2 separate regions of the Homo sapiens genome follow, and region 1 is linked to region 2. Evidence: promoter capture Hi-C in human tissues and cell types (Jung and others, 2019). All regions are on one chromosome and are shown on one strand. The core of a region is centred on a gene start or on the middle of the fragment in contact, and the rest is flanking DNA. Distances in the headings are between cores, read along the strand shown.

Evidence for each region. Contacts are between HindIII fragments. The study calls those that stand out against the background at their distance.
Region 1: a fragment that was not itself captured here is called in contact with the fragment with the promoter of NECAB2 in region 2 in 2 of the 25 tissues and cell types used here (heart left ventricle and liver).

What each region holds. Positions count from the first base shown.
Region 1 is chr16:83,857,525-83,861,457 of GRCh38, reverse strand. No RefSeq gene overlaps it. Among named protein-coding and RNA genes, the nearest start is that of MLYCD, 40 kb to the left of the region's middle. The HindIII fragment of the contact is 7,456 bases long and covers 1-3,933 here.
Region 2 is chr16:83,965,753-83,969,825 of GRCh38, reverse strand. NECAB2 (N-terminal EF-hand calcium binding protein 2) reads right to left here and starts at 1,582. Exons shown (of 13, transcript NM_019065.3): 1 at 977-1,582. The coding sequence starts at 1,177. It overlaps OSGIN1 (oxidative stress induced growth inhibitor 1), which reads right to left. Exons shown (of 6, transcript NM_182981.3): 6 at 3,494-4,073. The coding sequence ends at 3,819. RefSeq lists a silencer at 1,517-1,706. The HindIII fragment of the contact is 17,829 bases long and covers 1-4,073 here.

The DNA.
Region 1 (3,933 bases), core at 1,293-3,792, 110 kb after region 2:
TTACAGCCTCATTGTATCTTCATAAATTGGCATTCTTGTTTGCCCTTCTGTAGCAGTCAGAATTCTCTTGGTTACAGGTGACAGAAATACATTGTAAACTACCTCAGGCAAAAAGGGCAGCTCATTAGCTGAGGTCAAACCTTAGAAAGAACAGGCATCAGGGCTGGAACGAGAAATCCTTCCTCTTCCCCTTGTCTTTCCTTCTCTGCACACTGTCTTCATTCTCTCTGTCAGCTTTGTCCATGAGCTGGATCCAGTTTCCAGATTCACATTTTTTCATGAGTAACGAAGAGGCATCTTTTATTCAGATTTGAGAGCAATCAATGGGAAAGCCCGATGTAGATCACATGGCCTTCTCTGAAGGTTAACACTGATTCCATAAGGATCAATTCCCCCAACACAATGATCCTCAAAGTGTGGTCCCAAGCCAGCAACATCAGCATCACCTGGGAACTTGATAGGGCATTTGGGGGTTACCACAGAGGCGCTGAATTAGCATCTGGTTAACTAGCCCTCCAGGTGATCCTGATGCACCATCGGGTGGGAGAACCATTGCGTTAGATGAAGGGGAGCTGCTCTATCGGAAGAGAAGGGTACTGGGCAGAAAACATCATTGCCTATGATTGCGCTAGCTTCTCTGACCCTAGTCAAGTGAGTCCTCACCAGGTTTTGATAAGCTCACATCTTGGAGCTTGCAGGAGCTCAGACCAAGCAGTACGGTGACTTCTCCAGCACAGGTGCCCTGGGCAGGCCTGGTGACCAGCCTTCACCACGTGCACTCCCAGTTAGGGGTGTTTCAACCCTTGACCTCTCCCCTCAATCCAGCGGTCCTCCACCTGCCTCCCTCCACAATTAGCAATTATCAGCCAATCATTTGTATTCAAGCAGGGAAATTAAGTGATAAAAATAAGGATGCTGGCTTCATTTGTCCCTTTTTAGAGACGTAACAGGAGCTTTTTACATTTCACAAAATTATTTAATCGTATTAATGTGCCTAACCCGACGATGGCTTCTTCAAATGCCTTTCTTTTTGCACGTAAGACATTAAGGTAGGCATTTAAAACTGTATCTTTGAGCATCTCCGACATTAACGAATTATTAGACACTAATTGTTCTGGGGTCTAGCCACCTCCCTCAACAGGCAAGGTTTTCCATTTGCAGAATTTAAAACATACCAGAGCAATTTGTGTTCCATAATAGCTACAAATTTGTTAGCTTGACTCAAAACTAGGAAAACCTGGGAAGCTATTATGTAAATATAGATAATGTCTCTCCAATGATGGTAATTAACACAGAGATCTCCAAAATGGCATTTTCTTTATGATTGGGTAATAGTGAGCATTTCAAAGCCTGTGGGGTGGCATCAAGAGGCCCTGGAACATTTTCCTCGTCCCTCAGTAGTTCTTTCTGTCTGAAGAAGCCCTTTAGTTTCCTTAGAGGGAATAAGAAACAGAGGACAAAGACCGGCTCCTCCTCCTCTGAAGCCCCAAAGCCAACCATGAGCAGAGTGGCCTTGACAGCTGGTTGTAACCCCTCCTCTCCACTCCTCTCTGCATCTTAAATAGTTCCATTGCAAAATAGAGGGCTGGGCTGGACATGGTGCCTCATGCTGATCACCCCAGCACTTTTGGAGGCCGAGGTGGGAGGATCGCTTGAGCTCGGGAGTTTGGTACCAGCCTGGGCAACACAGTGAGACCTCGTCTCTACAAAAAAATAAGAAATTAGCTGGGCGTATACGAAATTATATGAGCTTTTATAGTACCAGCTACTCAAGAAGCTGAGGCAAGAGGACTGCTTGAGCCCGGGAGATTGAGGCTGCAGTGAGCCGTGATTGTGCCACTGCACCCCAGTCTGGGTGACACGGCAAGACCTTGTCTCAAAACAAACAAACGGAACAACAAAAACAAAATACAGTGCTGTGTCTGAGGTCGAGTTACCTCATTTGTATTGAAATCAGTGTCATTCAGACCTGTGCTTACCCTTGATCACGTGTGGGTCACATGTCACATGTTTCAGGTAATGCTAGGGAATCAAGTTCTATTGATCACTGCAGGAAGGTCTTCCTGATCAGCTGATCTCCCGCTTGCAATTTATCAAAAGAAAGAAGCAGTAGGAGACCTGGGAGCCTTGATTGCTACCCCTCCCCCAGGATGGACTGGTCTTTAGAGTATCTCCTGCCTGCGCATCAATGACAACTAACATATTTTGAGTGTGTATTGGGTTCTGGTTACCGTGCAAGGTCCGGGAAGGATAGAGTGATGGCTAAGATATGGTCTTGGCTTTGAGAAGCTTTCAACCCAATGTGGGGATCAGACCTGAACATAAATCAGCAACAACAGAAGGCAGAATGAAAAAAATAATAATCTGTCTGAAATGTCTTGTCCCACTTGCTGTAGGGCCTTTACACATGCTGTTGCCTCTGCCTGACTCACTCTGCTTTCCCCTCCCCTCATGAATACCTACTCTGCGTTAAACCTTCCCTGCTCCAGCATCACTTCCTCAAGGAACCCTTCCCCTGTCCACTTGGAGGGCTCTGAGTTCCTCTTATCCGTTCCCATTGCATACTCCATTGTTTTTTTGTATCCAGAAGGAGGTTCCTTTGTAGGTCTCTGCTACATCTTTCCCGCTCACCTGTGCACTCGTTCACATTAAAGTATAAACTAGTGTATTCTATGTACATTAAAACTGTGTAAAAGATGCCCTGCAAACAGAACTGTCCTCTTTCATGGATGCCTGTTGAAATAACAGAGGGTCTTGCAGGACATGAGCGACTATGTCTTCTTTGTGACTGTTCAGTGCATTGCAGAATATCTAGCATCCCCCTGAAGGCCACTGTTCATGCCAGGCATTGTGACAAGCAGAAAACTCCCCACAAACTTCCAAAGTCCCCCCCGGGGTAGGTGACAACTTTCCCATTCAAGAATCACCACTAAAAACCCAATAGGAGTGGCTACATGCAAACATACCACCCTGATGGATGTACAGTGTGGGTGGAGAGTGAGGAGTGACACCACAGCATCATGTCTTCATCCCTTCATTCATTCGTCACCTATCTGTGTGCACACTTGTGTAGGCTGGGTGTTGGGGACCCAGGGGTGAGCAAAACCTGACACAACCCCTGCCTTCAGGGGGCTTGCAGTCAAGGATTATAACAGGCTAAAGAAAGTGCCTTGGATACTTAGACGGACAGGAGCTTTGCACCATTACTGGTTAGAACGCACTGGAAGAAGGAGTTAGAGAACTTTGGCAGGGATTTGCCCATCTTGGCTAAGTGCCGGCATGTTGCACAGAAGTCATTCTTGATGGTTTATTTTCATGTGCACACTCATCTGTCTGCCTGTCTTGGTTGAAACAAGCATATTTATCAGATCTGGAGATTACATAGAACAAAGAGAGGGCTCTTACTCTGGATGGCAGAATTAAGATTCAAAAAATCTTAGCAGGTGGAAAGGCAAGTTGGAGACCTGCTGGAGTAAATCAAAAGAGTGTGAATGCTAAGAAGTAGTCTCATAATACTTCCCAACCCCCACAAAAATAGGATGGGGGAGGCCTACCTTAACAGAAATTCCTACGGAATATCGGTGGGAGGTTTAGGCACTTTCAGACCAGCAATGGGATGTGGTGGCGATAAAGTAAATGTGACGAATGGTTGTATTAAGTAAGGTATTAGGTCCAGATGAAGGGAGGGAATAGTACTGTTGGAGGGGCAGTTGTTCTTGACGTGTTATACCTGACTTGCAAATCATACTTTTTTTTTTTTTTCTGAGATGGAGTCTTGCTCTGTCGCCCAGGCTAGAGTGCAATGGTGTGGTCTCAGCTCACTGCAACCTCTGTCTCCCAGGTTCAAGCAATTCTCCTGCCTCAGCCTCCTGAGTAGCTAGGATTACAGGCATGTGTCACCACACCCAGCTAATTTTTGTATTTTTATTAGAG
Region 2 (4,073 bases), core at 333-2,832:
ACCCACCACTCTCCCAGAAATCCACCACACAGGCAGAGGCAGCCCCCAGCCCCACCCCAGCAGGACCCTCGCTGAAACACGCAGTCAACATCCCCAGAAGCCTCCTCCACCTCCTCCTAGCACTCTCTGCTGGGAGAAGTCCTCCTCCTCCGAGCCGCCCCCTGAAGATTCCTCCCTCCCGGGTGGGGCGGGTGGGAGGGTGAGGTGGGCTTCCCAGAGATGGGTGATTTGGGTCCCAGGGGAGTTAGGAGGGGTGAGGGGTGAGTCTGGTCCATGAAGAGGACCCAGCTCTCTGTAGGGTAGAGGGGTGTGGGGAAGGGAACAGAGGACTTGGAATGGAAGGGGGCGGGGTGGGGAAGACCAGAGGGGTACCAGCTCAGGGCTGATGGGCGATGGCTCTGGCTCAATGGAAAGGAGACGAGAAGACAGAAGGTGGGGAGGGGGCTTCACTTTTAAAGTGGCAGTAGCTGGGGCAAAGGGTCTTTGAGCGTGAGATGAACGGGGGCTCAGGGTCTAGGGCGAAGAGAGGTGGGCTAGAGGTAGGGGTTGTTAGGGGTCTCAGAAAAGTATCGCTCCGGACAGGATCCGGGATGGAGAGGAGGAGGCGGCTGGACGCGGCGAGGGGCTCCGGTCCCGCGGGGTAAAGGGTGGGGGTTTGGCTTGGACAAAACTAGGGGGACAGTGGCCGGGTCCGGGGGCTCACGGCTCCCCACTGTGGGCAGGCAGGGACTCCGAGAAGCGCCGGTGGAGGGGCGGAGGAGGGGGGTCTCCCGGTCCAGGGAGAGGACTGGGCTGGAGACCGGCCTGGACGTGGCGGGGCTGGGGGCTCCCGCTCCGGCACGCGGAGGGGCCGGGGGTCTCCTGCCCGGGTAGGGAGGGCCTCGCGGGTCGCGGCGTCGGGGTCCGCCCGAGGGGCGGAGGGGGCTCCGGGTCCCAGCGGAGGCCACGGCGGGGGTCCCGGCCGGCGCGTACTCACGTCCAGGATGACGGCGGTGCCCCCGCGCGGCGAGGCTGGGCCGGGGTCCGCGGGGGCGGCGGGGGCCAGCGACTCCCGGGGCTCGCCCATCCTGGCGCCCACCCAGCGCAGCAGCCCGCCCAGCGCCCGGCCCTGCTGCGGCGGCTCCCGGAGCAGCCTGTGCGCGCCGGCCCTGCACAGGCGCGCCGCCCGCTCGCACATCGCGCCGCGCCCGCCGCCGCCGCCCGGAAGCCCGCCGACCCCCGCCCAGCTGCGGCCCGCCCCCGCGCGACCCCCTCCCCGCGCTGCCCGCGCCGCCCCGCCCTCTCTCCCGCTGCCCCCGCGGCCGCGGACACCGCGGGGACTGGCCGGCGCCGGGGGGCGGGCCGGCCGGACCCCGAGCCACGTGCCCGCTCCCCGCCGCCCCCACCCCCGCCGGCCGGGCGCGGGGCCTGAGGACTGCCCGCCGGGGCGAGGGGCGCGGGCGCAGCCACAGAGGGGGCTACCCGGAGGGGAGGGGTATGTGGGGCCTGGGGGCGGGGCGGCGCCCCTGGGGCCTGCTCCCCAAAAGTCTCCTGCTCTCCCCGCTTCTAAAGTCCCCCCTCCCACTCGCGGCGCGCAGCAGAGGCCGAAGCGCGGGTGTCCAGCGAGCCCGGAGCGCCCTCTGCCGGCTCCAGCCCCGGGGAGCGGCGCCCACGCCCCGCGGCCCCGTCACGCCCGCGGGCGCCCATCCTTAACTCCCGCGGGCGTGCACGCCCCCTCAGGCCGCCCCCTTGGTTACAAAACGCCCAGAACCAGTCTTCACCCCAGAACATCTTTCCTTCATACTCCATCCACCCATCCATCTATCCACCCACCCACCTGTCCGTCCATCCATCCATCCATCCATCCACCTGCCTACCCGTCCATCAATCCATCTATACATCCATCCACCCATCCTCCCATCCATCCATCCGGCCGGCCGACTGTCCGTCCATCCATCCACCCACCCTCCCAACCATTCATCCATCCATCCATCCACCCACCCAGCATCCTCCCATCCATCCATCCATTCACCCACCCACTCATCCTCCCTCCCTGGCATCCATCCATCCACCCTCCATCCATCCATCCATCCACCCTCCCATCCATCCATCCATCCATCCATCCATCCATCCATCCATCCGTCCATCCATCTGCCCGCCCGCCCATCTGTCTGTCCATCCACCCACCCACCCTCCCATCTATCCATCTATCCACCCCCCTACCCTCTCATCCATCCATCCATCCACCCACCTACACACCCTCCCATCCATCCACCCACCATCCTTCCATCCATCCATCTATCCTCCCTCCCTCCCATCCATCCATCCATCCTCCCTCCCATCCATCCACCCACCCACCCACCCCCCTCCCTCCCATCCATCCATCCATCCATCCACCCACCCACCATCCTCCCATCCATCCAACCATCCTCTCATCTATCCATCTGTCCACCCACCCACCCATCCTCCCATCCATCCATCCACCCATCCATTTAAAAGATGAATTAAGGAGAACCCACTAGGTGCCAGGCAGGTGCCCAACCACGGAGTTCCAGCAATGGGCAAAACAGATGGTGTACTTGGTCTCCCAGAGCTCCTGGAGCTTACATCCAAGTGGGCAGAGCCAAACACTGAAATGATTCCACAAACAAATGAACAATTAAAACTGAACTGCTGGAAGGGTGTGGTGGCTCATGCCTGTGATACCAACACTTTGGGGAGCCAAAGAGGGCGGATCACTTGAGGTCAGGAGTTCAAGACCAGCCTGGCCAACATGGTGAAACCCCGTCTCTATTAAAAATACAATAACTAGCTGGGCGAGGTGGCAGTCACCTGTAATCCCAGCTACTTGGGAGGCTGAGACAGGAGAATCATTTCAACCCAGAAGCAGAGGTTGTAGTGAACCAAGCGCCACAGCACTCCAGCCTGGGTGACAAAATGAGACTCTGTCTCAAAAAAAAGAAAAAAAAACTGCACTGCTATGAAAAGGTAGCACCTTAGACCATGAAAGGAGTATTTGCTGTGACGGCAGTGGAGGGGTTTGTGTCAGAAGAGGCTTCCTAGAGGAAGTGATTCTTATGCTGAGACATCCCAAGGAAAAGGAGTTAAAGAAAGGCGGGAAACTGTCCTGGGCTGGGGACTCTCTGTGCAAAGGCCTTGGGGCAGGCAGAGACCTGGCCAGCAGGAGGGACTGAAAGGAGGCCGCATGGCAGAACAGAGAGGAGGGAGGCCTGGGACAGGCTGCGGAGGGGGCGGGGCTGCAGCGCCCTCCTGGACATCACTGCCTGCACACACCCGCCACTCCCACCCCCAGACTCTAGTACAGCTGCCCGCTCAACTGCCCCCACACTTGGGGCACCATCCTTTGTACCCCAAGGCCCCAGCCATGGACCTCATCCAGGACCACATGCCCCAGGACTCCTCCCACAATCCCCTTTCCTCCCTTCCCCCCAGCCCAGTGCAGGGTTCCGGGAACGCAGCTCCCTCCGAGCACAGAGTCCTCAGACGCATGAGAGCAGGTGGGCACTGGCTTTATTTGGGACCTGCTTCTGGAAGGCGCAGGGCTGCAGGTCTCCTGGCTGGGTGCTCAGCTGGTCACACCAGCAGCTTTCCCCACAAATCCCAGGTCTAGGCCAACCCTGGCCTGCGGCCGCTGTTACCACCTCAGACACTGGTCTAAGTCCAGGGCAGCCTGGGATCCCTACTCCTCTTGACCCCAAAGGCCAGCAACGTGGGCTGACACCCCTCCCCGGGGCATCTTTGGACGGGTCCTGCATCCAGCAGGGATGTGGTCATCTCTGTCCTCTCAGGGCCTGGGAGCCAGCGGGTCTGGCCGAGTGTTAGGGTGGCTTCCTGGTCTCCTTCCTTAGCAGGGAGCTGGCCACAGCCAAGGCGCCCCCCTGCACAAACCTCACGAAGTTGTCCCCGGCCAGCGGCCCCATGGCGTACAGGCCCTCCTGGCGGGTGCTCTGGTAGGTGAAGGGGTCCACGTCAATGGGGTTCCTCTTGGCGCTCAGCGGCTGGTCAGGATCCACTGCAAAGTCAGCCCCTGCCCCAGGCAGGAAGGAGAGGTCGGGGTGGGAGCCGATGAGGAC